7 separate regions of the Homo sapiens genome follow, and regions 1, 2, 3, 4, 5 and 7 are each linked to region 6. The links are contacts of gene promoters, found by promoter capture Hi-C in blood cells and fetal thymus (Javierre and others, 2016). All regions are on one chromosome and are shown on one strand. Each heading gives the region's core, a stretch centred on a gene start or on the middle of the fragment in contact. The rest is flanking DNA. Distances are from core to core; before and after follow the strand shown.

What was found. The method cuts DNA at HindIII sites, captures the fragments that hold promoters and counts their contacts. A CHiCAGO score of 5 or more calls a contact.
Region 1: a contact is called between a fragment that was not itself captured here and the fragment with the promoter of NCR2 in region 6, in 1 of 17 cell types (fetal thymus). The highest score is 5.2, in fetal thymus.
Region 2: a contact is called between a fragment that was not itself captured here and the fragment with the promoter of NCR2 in region 6, in 1 of 17 cell types (neutrophils). The highest score is 8.6, in neutrophils.
Region 3: a contact is called between a fragment that was not itself captured here and the fragment with the promoter of NCR2 in region 6, in 1 of 17 cell types (neutrophils). The highest score is 10.8, in neutrophils.
Region 4: a contact is called between a fragment that was not itself captured here and the fragment with the promoter of NCR2 in region 6, in 3 of 17 cell types (M1 macrophages, M0 macrophages and M2 macrophages). The highest score is 7.4, in M1 macrophages.
Region 5: a contact is called between a fragment that was not itself captured here and the fragment with the promoter of NCR2 in region 6, in 1 of 17 cell types (M1 macrophages). The highest score is 5.5, in M1 macrophages.
Region 7: a contact is called between a fragment that was not itself captured here and the fragment with the promoter of NCR2 in region 6, in 2 of 17 cell types (M1 macrophages and fetal thymus). The highest score is 5.8, in M1 macrophages.

Annotation. Positions count from the first base shown.
Region 1 is chr6:41,695,158-41,697,857 of GRCh38, forward strand. The region is part of intron 1 of TFEB (transcription factor EB); the gene reads right to left. Among named protein-coding and RNA genes, the nearest start is that of MIR10398, 37 kb to the right of the region's middle. The HindIII fragment of the contact is 4,275 bases long and covers 1-2,700 here.
Region 2 is chr6:41,044,164-41,046,863 of GRCh38, forward strand. TSPO2 (translocator protein 2) reads left to right here. Exons shown (of 4, transcript NM_001010873.3): 4 at 1-174. Among named protein-coding and RNA genes, the nearest start is that of TSPO2, 3.0 kb to the left of the region's middle. The HindIII fragment of the contact is 2,285 bases long and covers 239-2,523 here.
Region 3 is chr6:40,993,989-40,996,688 of GRCh38, forward strand. The region is part of intron 1 of LOC101929555 (a long non-coding RNA gene); the gene reads right to left. Among named protein-coding and RNA genes, the nearest start is that of UNC5CL, 44 kb to the right of the region's middle. The HindIII fragment of the contact is 2,512 bases long and covers 33-2,544 here.
Region 4 is chr6:41,627,629-41,630,343 of GRCh38, forward strand. No RefSeq gene overlaps it. Among named protein-coding and RNA genes, the nearest start is that of MDFI, 9.5 kb to the right of the region's middle. The HindIII fragment of the contact is 7,037 bases long and covers 1-2,715 here.
Region 5 is chr6:41,667,797-41,670,572 of GRCh38, forward strand. It overlaps the pseudogene NPM1P51. Among named protein-coding and RNA genes, the nearest start is that of MDFI, 31 kb to the left of the region's middle. The HindIII fragment of the contact is 7,923 bases long and covers 1-2,776 here.
Region 6 is chr6:41,334,102-41,336,888 of GRCh38, forward strand. It overlaps NCR2 (natural cytotoxicity triggering receptor 2), which reads left to right and starts at 1,507. Exons shown (of 5, transcript NM_004828.4): 1 at 1,507-1,827; 2 at 1,986-2,327. The coding sequence starts at 1,776. RefSeq lists an enhancer at 125-254. The HindIII fragment of the contact is 13,900 bases long and covers 1-2,787 here.
Region 7 is chr6:41,607,541-41,610,240 of GRCh38, forward strand. No RefSeq gene overlaps it. Among named protein-coding and RNA genes, the nearest start is that of MIR4641, 10 kb to the left of the region's middle. The HindIII fragment of the contact is 2,425 bases long and covers 56-2,480 here.

The sequences.
Region 1 (2,700 bases), core at 169-2,668, 360 kb after region 6:
CGCAGCACCTGCTAATCACAGCACCTGCCTTTTGGGGCCATTGGGGGGATTCAAGGTAAGTGTGTGGCAGTCGCTTCATAACCAGGGATCCCGGTCTCCTCTGGTCAGGCCAGAGCTGGTTTCATCCAGTCTGTGTGTGGGCCTTGCCTGTCAGTCATTTACACCTTAGTATGAACCAGCCCATGAATCATGAAATGGTATATGTGTAGACAACAGGAAGATCAGAGTACCAACCGCTAAATGCTTCGTGAATGATTGCCATGGGTCAGGGCTGGTCAATGTGCTTTTCCTAATGTTAATTCTGTTTTTTCTTCCCAACAACCCAATGAGCTGAGTACTAGTATTATCCCCATTTTTCCTGGAGGAAACAGAGGCACAGAGAGGTGAAGGAACTCACTCAAGGTTACACAGCTGATTAAGTAGCAGAATGGAGATTTGATCCAGGCAGGCTGGCTCACAGCCCCCACTCTTTAACTACTATTCTGGGCTCTCCCAGCACCCCAAACTGTTCAGAGTTGTTACCGCTGGGGAGGGGAGTGGGAAGGGGCAATGGAGGGGGAGGGATAAAGAGGGATTTTTATAGTTCTTCGTTCCACTGGAGAAGCACTCAGCTCTTACAGTGGGAATATGTGCGACTTGTGTGATTCTGTTAACAGGAGAAAGGAAGCACAGCAGCTTCTGGGGGTTTATGGGGGGGCCCAACCTGCTTCCAGGGCTTCCAGTCATGTCCAAAGGTGGGTCGCCAAGGGGAAGGAATCCCCCCAGCTCCACCTGGGCTGGCCCAAGCCCTGCCCTGCTCGGTGCAGTGGTCATTAGGCCAGCCGCGGTCCCTGGGTGAGGACACCGAGTGGCCAGCAGAGGCACAGAGCCAGGGCCAGCAGCCACCAAGCATTTGGAGCTGGAGGGCCAGGGCCCCACTCAGTTTCTACCACAGCCCCAGACAAGGGCTTCTGAGGGGAGTACCATCTTCATGCAGTGCCCTCAAACTATTGTCAGCTGACGCCAGTCCATTCAGTGGCTTGTGAGGCCTGAACTGCCTTGGGGATTTTTCTGCCCTCTAAATGATCCTTTAAAACTTGGAGCAGGAAGCTGAAAACACACTCCATGACCCATGGACCCCCTCCTATGCATGCCCACCAGAAAAGCATCCACGTGTTCACCAAAGCACATATACTAGAATGTTTGCGTGTATAGGAACCAAAACTGGAAACCACCCAAATGTCCACTAAAGAAAGATAGATAAAGAAGTGGTGGGCCAGGCATGGTGGTTCACACCTGTAATCCCAGCACTTTGGGAGGCTGAGGCGGGCAGATCACTTGAGGTCAGGAGTTCGAAGCCAGCCTGGCCAACGTGGTGAAACCCCATCTCTATTAAAAAATACAAAAATTAGCCGGGCGTGGTGGTGTGCACCTGTAGTCCCAGCTACTCGGGAGGCTGAGACAGAAGAATCGCTTGAACCCGGGAGGCAGAGGTTGCAGTGAGCCGAGATCATGCCACTGCACTCTAGCCTGGGTGACAGAGTGAGACTCCATCTCAAAAAAAATAAATAAATAAAATAAATTGAAGTGGTGGTACATCCATACAATCAAATGCTACAAAGCAATGACAGCAAATGCACTGTTGTTACACATGACATAGATGACTCTCGCAGACATAATGTTAACGAAAGAACCAAGGCACAAAAGTGTATACAGCATGCTCTGCGTATATGAGTTCAAAAAAACGCAACATTAATCTACTATGTTAGAACTCAGGATCCTAATTACCCTTGGGGGAGTGTCTGGGAGGGGACACAAGATGGCTTGGTGGGTAAGAGGATTAGGAAAGTTTTGTAATTTGATATGGGTGTTGGTGCCATGAGAGTGTCATATTTACAATAATTTGTACAGCTGCTCCCTTACAACTTATAATTTTCTGTATGTGTGTTGTATTCTCATTTTAAAATCACATAAGAATGAGGGCAGACCAGCCTGGCATGGTGGCTCACGCCTGTAATCCCAGCACTTTGGCAGGCCGAGGCAGCCAGATCACTTGAGGTCAGGAGTTCAAGACCAGCCTGGGCAACACGGTGAAACCCTGTCTCTACTAAAAATACAAAAATTAGCCAGGTGTGGTGGCACATGCCTGTAGGCCCAGCTGCTTGGGAGGCTGAGGCAGGAGAATTGCTTGAACCCGGGAGGCAGAGGTTGCAGTGAACTGAGATCACACCATTGCACTCCAGCCTGGGCAACAAGAGTGAAACTCCATCTCAAAAAAAAAAAAAAAAAAAGAATGAGGGCAGACGTTAAATAGTTTAAAAGAAGAGTTAGGGAAACTACCTTCACCAACACCACCCCTTCTCCAAACCCCCCCCCTTCCCCAAGTGTGTCTATGACTTTAAAATGCCTTTGGTACCAGGCACCTTCAACACAACTGCCAGAGCATACCTTGGTACAACCTCTTTGGAAAAGCAATTTGGCAATATATGTCAAAGCCTTGAAAAATATTCACCAGTCCAAGGAAGTAATCATAGATGCAGAAAAGGATGTTGTGCATAAAGATGCACTTCACATTATATGGAAAAAAGTCAAAACTAACCTCAATGTCCAGTTATAGGATAGTTAAATAAATTACGGTGTGTCCCTCCTGATGGACTGCTATACTTACAATAAATAACATGAGGATATGTCAGGTGACAAAATGTAGGATGTAGGGGGAAA
Region 2 (2,700 bases), core at 131-2,630, 290 kb before region 6:
CGCCCAGGGTGGGGAGGAAGAGTCTGCAAGCAGGGCTGTGGAGTTAGGGTTCACCCCAATGGGACCACCCTCCTGGGTCCCCTGGTGCCGTTTTTCCTTAGAAATCAGAGAAATGGGAAAGGGGGGGAAACTGATTTTACACTTAAATAATAAAATCCTATTAGTAACTCTGAAGGTATGATGTGAAGTGTGTATTTGAATGCATAATATGATGACTAGGGCGGCAGAGTGGGATAGAAGCTTCTGGACCTCTGTGTGAGTGTGTGCGCGTGAATGAATGTGTGAAGGCCCATGGGGGAGGGGTGGGCACACCAGCTCGCCTCCATTCACATGCCTCCCCACCTGGCATAAAGATTTAGCACTCAGATGTTTAATTACCTGAAAAACAAAAGGCTTTTTAAAAGTGACAAAAAAGCCAAAACAGAAAAATACACCTTAAAAAAGGGTACTAGGGGGCCAGGAGTGGTGGCTCACACCTGTAATCCCAGCACTTTGGGAGGCCAAGGCGGGTGGATCATGAGGTCAGGAGTTCGAGACCAGCCTGGCCAACATGGTGAAACCCTGCCTCCAAAAATACAAACATTAGCTGGGTGCAGTGGTGAGTACCTGTAGTCCTAGCTACTCAGGAAGCTGAGGCAGGAGAATCACTTGAACCCGGGGAAGAGGAGGTTGCAGTGAGCCGAGATCATGCCACTGCACTCCAGCCTGGGTGACAGAGTGAGACTCCATCTCAAAAAAAAAGGGGGGGATACTAATTATACATGTTAAGGTTATATAGTATATATTATACATTAATTTATATATCAGATTTATGATGCAATATCTAGTTATAACATATACTATGGTTGTATGATATATATGTTATACATCTCTGATAAATAAGATTATAGACCTTCTTTTTTGCTTTCATACATTCCTATGCTTTCCTTATTTTACATCAATTAATTACTATTAGAATAAGGCAAAGAAGATTGAAAAAAAGAGATTAAGCCTCAGGGTGCTGACAGGTGAATCCATAGGAGCTTCTTGTTCAGCCTTCTATCTTGCTTCTCTTTTTCTAAACCTTCTTAGTGGCTTTTTAATTTTTGACTCCTCCCTTCTCTGATTTTCTTCTGTCCTTGTTTCAAAGCCCTGATGGTGGCAAGGAGTGACCGCCCTTGAGTAAGCCTCCTCAAATCTTTAACAAGGTCAGCTGGAAGGCCCAGACACCTTGCAGTAGGGGGTCTCCACCTGCTGCATGATGGGGATCACCAGAATTGTTTAAAAATCCTCATCAGCCTCTCCAGGAAGGAGGCCTGGGCATCAACATTTTTAAAACTTCCCAAGACCTCCTCAGGTGCAGCCAAGGCTGTACCACAGCTGTTTGGAGCTATTTAAAAAAATGCATGTTCCTCAGACCGCACTCAGGACCCATAAATGAGAACGTTGCGGGTGGGCTCTTGGCATCTTCAGATTTAAAACCTCCTGAGCACTTCTGTCAGCTGCTAGCTAGTTTGAGTGCTTTGGGCACAGATCGTTTATCAGGGCCCGTTTAGCCTTGACACTCTGAGGTTTTGTGAGCTGAGTTTTAGAGCTGAAACAAACTGTATGCTCTCAGGTGAGAAGCCAGTAAGGCAGCATAATTTGAGAAGAGGAGTGGCTCTTTCCAGAGCTCACCCAAGAGAGGGAGTCTGCAGCCTCCCCTCCTCCACCAAGGGCATGCTCAGCCCAGTGGGTCAGGTCACAGGCACCCCAGGAGGACACACACAGTGTCCCACCCACCTTTGTATCTCCAGCCCCAGGACAGGGCAGAGCACAGAGTAGGTGCTTGTACGTTTTTATTTGTTGATTAATTGAACGAATAAATGAACACATTGTTGTACTTTAAAAACAAATGCTGACCAGCACCTGCCGCCACCCCTACCCCCACCCCTACTCTGGAACAACTGAAAAAAGAAGGGAAAGGCTTTAATCATTTTGGAAACTCCTGGTTCTAATGTGCAGCCAAACTGAGATGTGCTGCTGCAGGGTATTGCTTCTTACTGCTTCTCAAAGTGTGCCCCAGAGACCTCCTGAGACACTTGTTGGGACTCCAGACCCATGAAATCAGGTCATCTTGGGGAGTGAGAGCAATAGGGTATGGTGATTTGCAGTTCTGGCCATGGAGTCAGACCAACCTGGGGTTGGATATTGACTCTGTTATCTATTAACTGGTAACCTGGTGCAACTTCTAGCTATAAATACTGATGGACAGAGGATAGGCTCGGAACCCAAAATACATGGGTTCTTACCCAGCTCTACCACCATTGTGTGATCTTGGCAAGTGGGCACCCCAGACATTATCTTCCATTATCATTATTATCATCTCATAATAATATATGCATTGTAATATTTGCTACCAATTTTATTCATTACCAGCTAATTCTAGAAGTTAGGTGGAACCTCCAAGAAGATGTATGATGCCTAGGGTATTACTTTGACCTCCCCAAGGCAAGCTGGAGCCACTAACCCATGCCTCTAGCTTAGGACTTAGCCCTAGAAGAAAGCTTAATTTGGGCAGTGTCCCAAGCCCTGGGCTAGCACGACCGCCTGATACAGCATGAGCCAAGCTAAAGAGATTTTTGGCCATGTGCAGAAACTCAGCATGAAAGGGCAGAATCCCAACTCCAAACTCTTATCCTCTAACTCCAAAGTTGTCCTTAAAATCCTCCTCTGCCCCAG
Region 3 (2,700 bases), core at 39-2,538, 340 kb before region 6:
TCTGGAAAAGCCCATTTATCATGAGGAACCAAAGCTTCATGGCCTACTGTCTATTTTGTTGCTTTATTCCCTAGCACTAAATGGGACTTCAGGACCTCCCACTTGTTCCAGTACCCAATGACATGCCTATATTTCCACACTCAGTTTGCCCTTCCCTTCAGCCCCTCTAGCTCTCAGCCTTCCTGGGACCTTAAATAAGTCACGCAGCTCCTTTCACCAACTCTTTTCTTGTTCTCGTTACTTCTGGGCTCTTCTGCCTTTCTATCTCGTCTCCTTCTCTCAGCAGCTCACTGTCCTTTCCAATTTCAGCTGAAATCAGATTCCTTCTCCCTTGCCTTTGCTTTCCCACCTCCCATGGCCTCTCTTATCATTTATTATTTAACTCAGTCACCATATTATGTATGCACAAGAGCCATTTCTGAACATGGTCGGCATGAAAAAAATAGGACCCAAAGCAGAAGCAAACACCTCTTCCCTATCAGTCTCACAGCTCCATTGTCATCCTGCTCCAGTCCTGAGCAAGGTCCAGCGAAACAGCCAGATCTGGCCAACACACCCTCAAGCCCAATTAACTTCTTAGGTTGGACACAGGGAAAATTTCCAGATGGCTTTTTACAGATATCCTTCAATTTATGTAAGAGATGCCTTCCTGGAAGTGGATGTTTGAATGAAATTCCAAATGGAATATCAGGAGGGTCAGGCACACAGGATGTGTGGTTCAGAGACCCAGGTTCTATTCTTCTTGAGATGGAGTCTCGCTCTGTTGCCCAGGCTGGAGTGCAGTGGTGCAATCTCGGCTCACTGCAACCTCCACCTCCAGGGTTCAAGCAATTCCCTGCCTCAGCCTCCCAAGTAGCTGGGATTACAGGTGCCCACCACCACAACCAGCTAAATTTTGTGGGTTTTTTTTTTTCTTAAGTAGAGACGGAGTTTCACCATCTTGGCCAGGCTGGTCTTGAACTCCTGACCTCATGATCCACCCACCTCGGCCTCCCAAAGTGGTGGGATTACAGACCTGAGCCACCGCGCCCTGGCCTCCAGCTTCTATTCTTTAATAGCCCTCATTAACTTACTTCCAGAACTTGGGCAAGACCTGTAGCTTCTCTAGATCTCAATTTCCCCATTTATAAAACAAGGGAGCCAGACTATATTTCCTCAAGTTTCTTTCAGTGTGAAAATTCAAAAACTCCTATTTTACTTAATGATCCACATGATTCCATTGGAGATCCTTCCTACAGTTAAAATTCAGCTCTCTCCTCATCAATAGGTCATTACGGAGCATGTGCTATGCTGCTGCGCCTCATTAGAAGGGAATGTAGATTAACCTGGTGAAGCCCTCCTTTTATAGATGAAGAGACCAGAGCCCAGAGAGGAGAAGCACCTAATCCTGGGGTCACACAGCCAGTGAGAGGCAGAGTCAGTCTAAAATGTACAAGTCCTGGCCTGAGACTACTCTTTTTTTCCTGTGTGGTGTTTTAAGCATGACTGCAAATATTTTTATCCTCCTTCCATCAAGAGGTAGATCTATGTCCCCTACTTTCTTTTTCTTTTTTTTTTTTTTTTTTTTTGAGACGGAGTCTCGCTCTTGTTGCCCAGGCTGGAGTGCAATGGCACAACCTCAGCTCACCGCAACCTCCACTTCCCAGGTTCAAGCGATTCTCCTGCCTCAGCCTCCCAAGTAGCTGGGATTACAGGCATGTGCCATCACACCCAGTTAACTTTGTATTTTTAGTAGAGATGAGGTTTCTCCATGTTGGTCAGGCTGGTCTCAAACTGGCAACCTCAGGTGATCCGCCCACCTCAGCCTACCAAAGTGCTTAGATTACAGCTGTGAGCCACCACAGCAGACCTTGTCCCCTACTTTTTATTTGAATGGGTCCTTGGCACCTCCCACCAATAGTACATTTGGAATGAATGCTATGTAACTTCCAAGGCAGGGTGCATAGAAGGCCATACAGCTTCAGCCTAGCTCTCAAAGGACATTTATTTTCTCTCAGAGCCTTCATGTAAGAAGTCCAATGGGTTGGGTGCTGTGGCTCACGCCTGTAATCCCAGCACTTTGGGAGGCCGAGGTGGGTGGATCACCTCGGAGGTCCGGAGTTCAAGACCAGCCTGGCCAGCATGGTGAAACCCTGTCTCTACTAAAGATACAAAAAAATTAGCAGGATATGGTGGTGCACACCTGTAATCCTACTTACTCCGGAGCTGAGGTGGAAGGATCTCTTGAATCCCGGAGGCGGAGGTTGCAGTGAACCAAGATTAAAACACTGCACTCCAGCCTTGCTCTGTCTCAAAAAAAAAAAAAAAAGTCTAACAATCCTGAGAACTCCATGCTCTCTCAGCTGAGCCCACCCGTAAGCCAGCCCAGCCCAGCTGCCAGACATATGAGTGAAAAAACTATTGGAAGTGGATCCTCCAGCCCCCAGTGGTTGAAAGCACCCCCATTCCAGTCCTCCCCTGAAAGATCCACCTCTGTGCTTTTTTCTAACTTCTGACCCACAGAATTTGGGATCACAATAAAATAGTGGTTGTTTCATGCCACAAAGCTTTGGAGCAGTTTTTTACATCGTCATAGACAACCTGAAGAACTAGTAAACTCTCATGTTGGCTAATATTCTTGGGCTCCCTTCCCCCAGGTGACCAATGCCAGGAGTGTGTGACTTGCAGCACATGTGCTGAAGGTGGAGAGAGGTAGCCTCT
Region 4 (2,715 bases), core at 44-2,543, 290 kb after region 6:
TCCTGGGATTACAGGCGTGAGCCACCGCGCCCGGCAAGGCTCTCCACTTTTAAAGATTTATGTGATGAGATTGGCCTACCTGGATAATCCAGGCTAATCTTCCCATTTCAAGGTTCCACGCCCTTCATCACATCTACAAAGTCCCTCTTGCCCTGTATGGTAACATACTCATAAACTCCTGGGGCATCTTTGGCCTAATGCAGTACACTATCTATCAAGCTGTCCTAAGCATGTTTTCTATGTGGACACTGATCTCCCCTCCAGACTGTCTCGGCATCATCACACTAACAGTAAATCATTATATAGGGCTTGCCACACAGCAGGCACTGCCCTAAGGACTTTACATTTCTAACCTTATTCAACATGCCCCAAAACCCTCTGAGCTCCCGACTCCTTAAGCATAGGCTGCACATAGTGACTTCCTTCCAAAGAGTACAGTTTGGAGAGGAGAGGGGTAACTTGACTGTGGAGAAACCTGATAAACACGATCTCAGCCAAGTGACCAAGGTTAACATCAGTGGTTATAAGTCATGGTTCGTAGGATGTGCTATTGATATGATTTGATGACTATTGTTTTCTGTTGTTGTCGTTTTTGAGACGGAGTCTCACTCTGTCACCCAGGCTGGAGTGCAGTAGCGCGATCTCAGCTCACTGCAACCTCTGCCTCCCGGGTTCAAGTGATTCTCCTGCCTCAGCCTCCTGAGTAGCTGGGACTACAGGTCCATGCCACCACACCCGGCTATGTTGTCCAGGCTGGTCTCGAACTCCTGACCTCATGATCCGCCCGCCTCAGCCTCCCAAAGTGCTGGCATTACAGGTGTGAGTCACCGTGCCTGGCCCATGACTATTGTACTTTACCTCTGTGGTCTTCCTCCCAGAAACCCATAAGCCCAGTCTAATCATGAGAAACGCATCAGGCAAATTCCAACAGAAGGACATCCTGCAGTATACCTGCCCAGTGCTCCTCAAAGCTCTCAAGGTCATCAAAAGTAAGAAAAGTCTAAGAAGCTGTCACAGCCAACAGCAGCGTAAGGAGACATGACAACTAAATATGATGTGATGTCCTGAATGGGAGCCTGACATAGAAAAAGAACATCAAGTAAAAACTAAGAAAATATGAATTAACTAGGGGCTTTAAAACAATACTAATAATGTATCAATATTGGTTCGTTAATTGAAACAAATGTCAATAATTGGGAAAACTGGCAGTAACATAGATGGGAACTCTGTACTTCTTAATTTTTCTGTAAATCTAAAAGTGTCCTAAAAAATAAAGTTTGTTACAAAAAGTTTTAAATGTAATAAAATTCTAAAAACAGATGCTATCGGCTGCGTGGGGTGGCTCACGCCTGTAATCCCAGCACTTTGGGAGGCCGAAGCGGACAGATCACAAGGTCAGAAATTCAAGACCAGCCTGACCAACATGGTGAAACCCCATCTCTACCAAAAATACAAAAATTAGCCAGGCGTGGTGGCGCACGCCTGTAATCCCAGCTACTCAGGAGGCTGAGGCAGGAGAATCACTTGAGCCCAGGAGGCAGAGGTTGCAGTGAGCCGCCATTGCGCCATTGCACTCCAGCCTGGGCAACAGAGGGAGACTCTGGCTCAAAAAAAAAAAAAAAAAAAAAAGATGCTATCACTATGCCCATTTTACAGATAAAGAAACTGAGGCACAAAGAGGTAACTTATGCTATGAATGGCAGACCCAGGATTTGAATTCAGGCATTCTGGCACCAAAGTCCATGCTCTTGACCACTGTGTTTTCAACCTGTCTAGGGACTACTGTCCAATCTCCCCCATTAGCTCAGGAGTTCCCCAAGGGCAGGACTCTACCTCTACCCTTAGACTAGAGACAGGACTGTGCCTGTCTCCCTTGAGGGACAAGGGCCATATTTCTCTATCAGACTGGGCACCATCTCCAGGCCCCTAGACAGTCCAGAATAGAATACACGCTGGGTTTCAAGAACAGACCAGTACTTCTCAATCAGGAGTGCTTTTGAACCCCTGCCTCCCCCCAAGGCCAGGGGACATTTGGCAATGTCTAGTGGAGGCGTTTTTGGTTTCATGACTGGGGGTTGGGGGTGTTACTGGCATCTGGTGGGTAGCAGCCATGAATGCTGCTAAATATCCTACAATGAGCAGGACAGCCCTCAACAAAGAATCATCCAGCCCGAAAATGTCAATAGTGCTGAGGTTGAAAAACCTTAGGATAGACACTATGTCTAATTCTCTCTCCCATTTCCCTCATAGGGACAGTCATATGTGTCTAACCACATGTAAGAACTTTTGGTTTGGGAAATATGGTCGCCGTAAGTATAGGTATAGCGGTGACTCTGCCACTGAGCGCTCCACCCTGGGGAACTGAGGAGGGAGGGGCCAGCACGGGCCTCGTGCCTGTCTCTCAGTCCCTGCCTCAGTTGCTACGCCCTGATTTCCATCATGGCCCTTTTGGCAGAGCCACCGGGATGTCCTATTTCTTGGAGCAGAATGAAGTTACCAGCCCATAGGAGGTCACGGCTGAGTCACCCCTTCTTGCCCTCAGCTCCAAGAGCACATGGAAACGTGAAAAAGGCATCAACGTCATGGCTTATAGTTTGCTTGGGGCAGCCAGATCCCAGAGGTATGGCAGGGAGTGGGCAGCTGCCAAGTCAGCCCTGTCCTCACCCAAGACCTTTCTGAGGCTGGCCAGCAGGACATGTCATGGCAGCTGCATGC
Region 5 (2,776 bases), core at 133-2,632, 330 kb after region 6:
TGCCACCATGGCTCTTCAGGCTGGAAACAATTTGGTTCCCAAAAGCACTTTCTCTGACTGCTGTGATTCAGTGAAACTTGCCCTTTGCTTTCTATTACTTGTGCATTTGCCTCACCTCTGGCCATGTTTTAAATCACCTTTGTATCTCCTTAACTGCTCAAAAAAATATTATTTGAATGAATTTTTTTAAAAAAGAGCCACCTTGGGCCTATTGAAGGTAGCCAGTCTAAGAGGTCAAGACAAACTCTCAAGGACTCCAGAGTGGAAAGAAGAAAACTATCTACTCCTTATGACATCTTCACCACTGAATTAACCAACCCTGGAACCACACTATCTCTGAACATCCTGTTATAGAATCATTCTTAAGCACTTTAGTTGGGTTTTCTATTATTTTTAGCTGGAAACGTATTGACTGATGTACTTCCTTCCCTTAGCATTAGTTTCTCTGCGAGAAAAATGGAGGAGCTCTCTGAACTCCTTACCAGGAAAGTGGTAAAGGATTTGATATCTGATAAAAGATTTGTTTCTAGAATGCATTAGGAACTCTCAAAACTCAATAAAGAAAACAAGCAACCCAACAAAACTGGCAAAAGATTTGGACACTTCCCCGAAGAAAAAATACAGATGGCAAATAAACATATGAAAAGATGTTCGACATCATTAGTTATTAGGGAAATTAAAATTAAACCCACCATGAGATATCACTATATATCTATTAGAATGGCCAAAATTAAAAACTGACCACACCAAATATTATTGAGGCTGTGGAAGAATTGGAATTCTCATATATTGTTAGTGGGAATGTAAAATGATATGATCACTTTGAAAACATTTTGGCAATTTCTTTTTTTTTTTTTTTTGAGACGGAGTCTCACCCCGTCGCCAGGCTGGAGTGCAATGGCGCAATCTCGGCTCACTGCAACCTCCGCCTCCCAGGTTCAAGTGATTCTCCTGCCTCAGCCTCCCAAGTAGCTGGGACTACAGGCTCGTGCCACCATGCCCAGCTAATTTTTTTTTTGTATTTTTAGGGAACGGGTTTTCCCCATGTTGGCCAGGATGGTCTCGATCTCTTGACCTCATGATCCACCTGCCTTGGCCTCCCAAAGTGCTGGGATTATAGGCGTGAGCCACCGTGCCCGACCAACAATTTCTTAAAAAGTTGAACATACACCCACCTCATGACCCAGGCATTCTACTCCTAGGTATTTACTGAAGAGAAATGAAAGCACTTGTCCCTACAAATATTTGTAGACAAATGTTCATAGCAGTGTTATTCACAATAGTCAAACTTCTAAACAACCCAATGTCTTTAAATTTGAATGAATAAACAAATTCTGGTATATCCATACAATGGAATATTACTCAGCCATTAAAAGGGAAAGAAATACTGATACATGCAACAACATGAATGTGTCTCAGTTATGCATCTCATTAGATTCACAGACAAAACTAATTATGCCTACTAAAGGAAGCCAGAGAAAAATAGGTGCGTTCTCTATGATTCCAGTTTTGTGAAATTCTAAACAGTACAAACTAATCTATCGCACAGAAAGCACATCAGTAGTTGCCTGGGGTTGGAGGTGGGATAGGGAGAAACAAAAGGGAGGGATCACAAAGGATCATAAGGAACCCTTTGGGGGTAATGGATGTGTTCACTATCTTGACTGTGGTGATAGCTTCATGGGTGGATACATACATCAAATCTTATCAAATTGTACACTTAAATATGTGCAATAAATGGCTTTATATCTCAATAAAGCCATTTTATTTTTTATGAAGTAGACTTTTTTCTTTCTTTCTTTCTGTACATAGCATGTTTTTAGTTCTTTTTTTTTAATTTATTTCCATAGGTTTTTGGAGAACAGGTGGTATTTGGTTACATGAGTAAATTCTTTAGCGGTGATTTGTGAGATTCTGGTGCACCCATCACCCAGGCAGTATACACTGAACCAATTTTTAGTCTTCTATCCCTCACCCCCTTCCCACCCTTTCCCAAGAGTCCCCAAAGTCCATTGTATCATTCTTATGCCTTTGCATCCTCATAGCTTAGCTCCCACTTATAAGTGAGAACATAAAATGTTTGGCTTTCCATTCCTGAGTTACTTCACTTAGAATAATAATCTCCAATCCCTCCAGGTTGCTGCAAATGCCATTAATTCATTCCTTTTTATGGGTGAATAGTATGCCATCATATATATGCCACAGTTTCTTTATCCACTCGTTTACTGATGGGCATTTGGGCAGGTTCCACATTTTTGCAATTGTGAATTGTGCTTCTATAAACATGTGTGTCCAAGTATATTTTTCGTATAATGACTTCTTTTCCTCTGGGTAGATACCCAGGAGTGGGACTCCTGGATCAAATGGTAGTTCTTTTAGTTCTTTTGTTTGTTTGTTTTGTTTTGTTTTGTTTTGTTTTGTTTTGTTTTTGAGATGGAGTCTCGCTCTGTCACCCAGTCTGGAGTGCAATGGCGCTGTCTCTGCTCACTGCAACCTCAGCCTCCTGGGTTCAAGCAATTCTCCTGCCTCAGCCTCCCGAGCACCTGGGATTACAGGCACGTGCCACCACACCCAGCTAATTTTTTGTATTTTTAGCAGAGACAGGGTTTCACCATGTTAGCCAGGATGGTCTCTATCTTCTGACCTCGTGATCCACCCACCTCAGGCTCCCAAAATGCTGGGATTACAAGCATGAGGCACTGCACCCAGCCAGTTCTTTCAGTTCTTTAAGGAATCTCCACACCGTTTTCCATAGTGGTTGTACTAGTTTACATTC
Region 6 (2,787 bases), core at 257-2,756:
AGTCAGCATGGGAACACAGTTGCTGACACACACACACACACACACACACACACACACACACACACGGTGACGTGCCTCGGTGCCATCTGAGGACAGGGCCGCCTTCCTCCCCCTCGGGAGGATGCCCCCACCCTGATTTGGTATGTAATTATGTTCAGGGAGAAGCTGGGCCCCACTGTCGGCGAGGAAACCCCCTAAAAGCTCACCTCCGCCTGTGTGTGCAATTCAGTGGGAGCCTCTTTCTCACCCCTGGTTTCCTGTCATGTCTGTGGGTCGCATTTCAACCAGACCAGCCGGAAGGCTCCAGACCGAAGTCAGGAGGCCTGTTCTGGTCCTGTGTGACTCTGAGCAGGTGGCTGACCATATCTGGGCCTCAGTTCTCACATCTGTGAAAAAGAGAAGTAATGTCTCCCTCGCGAACCTGCTGAGGGTCTTGAGAAAGTGTGCATGAGAATGCTTTGTAAATAATGCTTGTGTGAGTGAGTGGCGGGCATCGCTCCCTGAGCTGTCTTCTAGCTCTGGAGCTCCAGCCTGCTTTCCCACCTTGGGCCCTTGGGCGCCAACATCTGATAGCCCTACTGTGTCCTCCTTTTGCATACCCCTCTGCCTTTCCCATTCTCAGTCTCTGCATACTCCTACTGTAAGGAGAAGGGCAGTGTACTGAGATGGAGTGGAGAGCAGGAGTCCAGGGGCAGGCAAAGCAGTGGACTTGGAATCGAGTCCACTTGACAAGTTCCAATTCCCGTCTCAGTTATTACCTCTGTTCACAGAGCTCCCGGCAGCAGATCGCCAGTCCAGCAGAGCCCCCAGTGGTGCAACTGCAATTACACACAGTGTCTCTACCAGTCCTAAGATATATTAGCTCGTTCTCTTTGTAAATTGCATCGTATTTTAAAACTGAATCTTCAAAGTGCTGACATTAACTAAAGAAAAATATGCTAGAGTCTTTCATCTGTTTATGTTTTAATTAAACAATATTTCTCCAGGGTCCTTAAGTGGCAGAGGTCCAGGATGCAGAGATGAGGCCAGGTCCTGGTTCCTGGGCTCCCTCTACCCCACCCCACTGATGCATCCCATGCTCCGTGTGCTCTTCCCACCCTCCCCTCCCCGACCTTTGCCAGGGACCCTCCCTAGCCTCCCTTGCTGGTTTTGAATCTCCACCTCCTCTCCCCTCTCCTTTCCCGCACCCACGAAACTCCCAGAGTGGAAGCACATCACTGACCCACCATGGAGGCCTGGGCATGACGTCCCTGGCCATCCTGTGACCAGTGAGGCTTGGGGCTTGTGATCAGGGTTCCAAGTGCCCCTGAGTTTGTCATCCACCCTCAGCCTGCCTTTCCCTGGAAAGGGCGGCAAAGCTAGGGCCCTGCAAAGAAGAGAGGCAGCACACAGAGGGAGCAAGGGGGAAGCAGTCCATAACTCGCCCACAGTTTCCTCCTGGCCTTTTCAGCTCCTCCCTCAGGGGTAGGTCATGGTGGGGAGGGGCAGCTGGGCACAGGGGAGAGCAGGCATCTTCTACAGAGGCCTGGGAAGCTGTGTGCCAGACAGCGCCGAGCCCACCAGACCCAGACTCACCTACAGCTGGAGATCCCCACTTCCCTGTGCCCACAGAATCTGCCCTTTGCAGTCTCCCATCTCCCCAACCCAGGCCTCAGCCTGTCTCATTTTTCTATCAGACGTGCTGGAAGAGCAGCAGAATCAGGCCCAGCTCCCAATTCCCTCTCCCCAGTCTTCTCCAGGTGTCCCCTCCCATGAGCGCACAGGAAAAGGACCACATGGCCTGGCGAGCCCTACACCCACTGCTACTGCTGCTGCTGCTGTTCCCAGGTGAGGGGGAGGAGGAGCCCAGGGAGCAGAGGAGATGGGTGTGGTGGGGACTGTCAGGACAGCAGGGTCAGGGAGCAGGTGGCTCTGTGGCCAGAGGCCTGCTGTGAGGCAGGTTGTGCGCGTGGCCTTGACCTATGCGTTACTTCATCATTCTCCAGGCTCTCAGGCACAATCCAAGGCTCAGGTACTTCAAAGTGTGGCAGGGCAGACGCTAACCGTGAGATGCCAGTACCCGCCCACGGGCAGTCTCTACGAGAAGAAAGGCTGGTGTAAGGAGGCTTCAGCACTTGTGTGCATCAGGTTAGTCACCAGCTCCAAGCCCAGGACGATGGCTTGGACCTCTCGATTCACAATCTGGGACGACCCTGATGCTGGCTTCTTCACTGTCACCATGACTGATCTGAGAGAGGAAGACTCAGGACATTACTGGTGTAGAATCTACCGCCCTTCTGACAACTCTGTCTCTAAGTCCGTCAGATTCTATCTGGTGGTATCTCCAGGTGAGCTCTTTCCCTAGGGTCCTCAGAGGGGTGCCCCTCACCCCCTTTTGGTGCCTCCATCACCCCTGGTTTCCCAATCGTGGAAGCCACCCATGCCCACGCCCCAGTCTCCTGGGAAGGCTGTTGGGAACAGGTGCAGGGGGAACTCATATGTGCACAAGAGCAGCCATCTCACAGTCTGCATGACTCCCAAGCCTGCAGCCTGGGCCTCCTGAGAGATGCTGAAACAGACCCGGTGAGCATGCTGACCAGTCAGCCTATATGACCCTGCTACAGGAGGGCAGGACCACCCGGCATCTTTGGTACATAGTAGGTGCCCAGGAAAGGTGCATCCACTGGCTGCCCCCACCATGTAGAGCCAGTGGTATCTGGGTAGTCTAGATACCAAGATACTATGGGTATCCCTCATAGTCCAGATCGGGGACTAAGAATGAGTGAAAAAAACTAAGAATGAGTGAAA
Region 7 (2,700 bases), core at 18-2,517, 270 kb after region 6:
AAGGGTTCCCAAAATTCGAGGCCTGGGAGCTGCTTCCATGGACTTGGCAACTGGAAGCTTCTGATGCCCTAGGACAGAATAGTTTCTAAGAAGAGTGAGGGCAGAATGGTGGGTTAGGGCAGCGGTCCCCAACCTTTTTGGCACCAGGGACTGGTTTCGTGGAAGACAATTTTTCCATGGACCAGGGTGGGGGTGAGGGGATAGTTTCGGGATGAAACTGTTCCACTTCAGATCATCAGCCATTAGATTCTCATAAGGAGCACACAGTCTAGATCCCTTGCATGCACAGGTCACAATAGACTTCACACTCCTGTGAGAATCTAGTGCCACCGCTGAGCTGACAGAGGCGGAGCTCGGGTGGTTATGCTCCCTTGTCAGCCGCTCCCCTCCTGCTGTGCGGCCCAGTTCCTAGCAGGCCACGGAGCAGGTCCACGGCCTGGGGGTTGGGGACTCCTGGGTTAGGGAGTCTGTATGTGGAGGGCAAGTAGAGGCACAGGTGTACGTCTCTCTTTCAGTGAGTTTAGTAAGCAGCAAAGGGAGAGAGAGAGGAGACCCCCAGAGGTTGAGAGGAGGTGGGACATAGCCAAGGAATGTCAAGAAAATGTTTTATTATTAATTTTCTCAGCAGTGATGGTTATATGTGCCTCAGTGTATTTTTAAGGAGCATGGGGCCGGGTATGATGGCTCATGCCTGTAATCCCAGCACTTTGGGAGGCTGAGGCGGGTGGATCACTTGAGGTCAGGAGTTCGAGACCAGTCTGGCCAACATGGCGAAACCCTGTCTCTACTAAAAATACAAAAAAAAAAAAAAAAGCCTGGCATGGTGGTGTGCGCCTCTAGTCCCAGCTACTCGGGAGGCTGAGGCATGAGAATAACTTGAACTCAGGCAGCATAGGTTGCAGACAGAGCGAGACTCTGTCTCAATTAAAAAAAAAAAAAAAGCAAGGGAAAAGGCAGAATGGGCTCAGATTATATACCTCTTTATGAGTGCATACATGAGCCAGCCCTTCTCCAGCAGACTCAGCAGTTCCCCTGGTTCTGATGTCTCCTTCCTTGTTATCTCCCCGAGAACTCAGGAACAGGGGACCCCTTCTGGGAAGGGCAGCCTAGAAACAGTCATGGGACTCACAGCTGGCAGTGGGAAGTCAAGAGCGGGTGGGAATCCCATCCCCAAGCAGAGGCCTGGGCTTGGTGACACTGAAGGAGGGTATGAGGCGGTTCAGGGGCTCCTCAATAGTTAAGACAAAGGCGGCTCTGGCAGATGGGCCGCAGTGTGGAGCACCTGTGTGAACAGGAGGCAAGGGAGGTGGCAGGGAACACAGGGCTGGCCTGCCTGTTAGACCTGCTAAGGCCTTCACCCCAGGAGCCTTCTCACCTCCCTGCACCCCTCCTCTATTGCAGTCGCCACCCCCACCCAACCACTACACCATTCACACAAGTTTCTCTCCTACTTCTTCCGTGGAATTCCTTCCTCATCCTTCTCTTGCTTCCTGCTTTGCAAAGACTGCTCAGCTGTCATTGGCTGTCCCCGGGTGCCCTCTCCCACAACCCGCTCTGGTCCTCAGCTGTCACACCTTTGCCACGACCCACCCCCAGCTTCCTGACTTTGCTTCCGCATTGGAGAATCACCCCAAACTGACGTGTGTATCTTTCCCTATCCCAGAGCGCACCCAGTCAATCCACAAACCTTTATTGAGCATCGATTCTACACCCAGCCTGGGGCTGGGTGTTACAGGTAATATGGAAAGCAATGAGTAGGCACAGGCCCTACCCTGAGGGGCTAACAGAGCAGCTGGAAAAAGAACACTGATAGGTTGTCCGGGCGCAGTGGCTCACACATGTAATCCTAGCACATTGGGAGGCCGAGGCAGGCGGATCACTTGAGGTCAGGAGTTCAAAACCAGCCTGACCAACATGGCCAAACCCTATCTCTACTAAAAAAAAAATATTTAAAAAAATTAGATGTGGTGGCAGGCACCTGTAATCCCAGCTACTGGGGAGGCTGAGGCAGGAGAATCAGCTGGCCGACAGAGCAAGACTCCGTCTAAAAAAATTTAAAAATTAAAAAAAAAAAGAAAGAAAGAAAATAACACCGATATGTAAAGAAGTAAAATAAGTCAAGATAAGGCCCCATACAAAAGAATATGCTTGACTCCCTTCTGCTGTAAGCACTCCCCATATAGAAAAGGGTCTTCTTATGACACTCCCAAGGAGTTTAATTTTACAAAAGTCTTTCCCATAAAAATTGTTATTAATATGGTGACAGAGAAGGCAGCTGCATAGAAAAGAATAGAAAGCAACAAATTATGAAGTATAACCGAGGTTAATCATTCATACATTCAAAATTTATTGAGAACTTTCTGCATACAAGGCACCAAGCTGAGCTCTGAAAGTACAAGATGAATAAGACACAGTCTGTCTCCTCAAAGAACTCCAAACAGATACATATATAAGCAGAAGAATGACATATATATATATGAAGCTTATAGATATAGACAGATATATAAGCAGAAGAATGACAATACAACATTCAGTTTGGGGATGGGAACCCAGAAAAGGATGTGTGCAACTTCCCTGGGGTAACCTGGGAAACTTCACACCAGGGAAGCACTTGAGCTGGATGTTGAGAGGTGCCTGAGCAGAGAGGACAGCACGTGAAGGGCACAGCGTCTGAAAGGAGCTGATCTGTTCAGAGTGCCC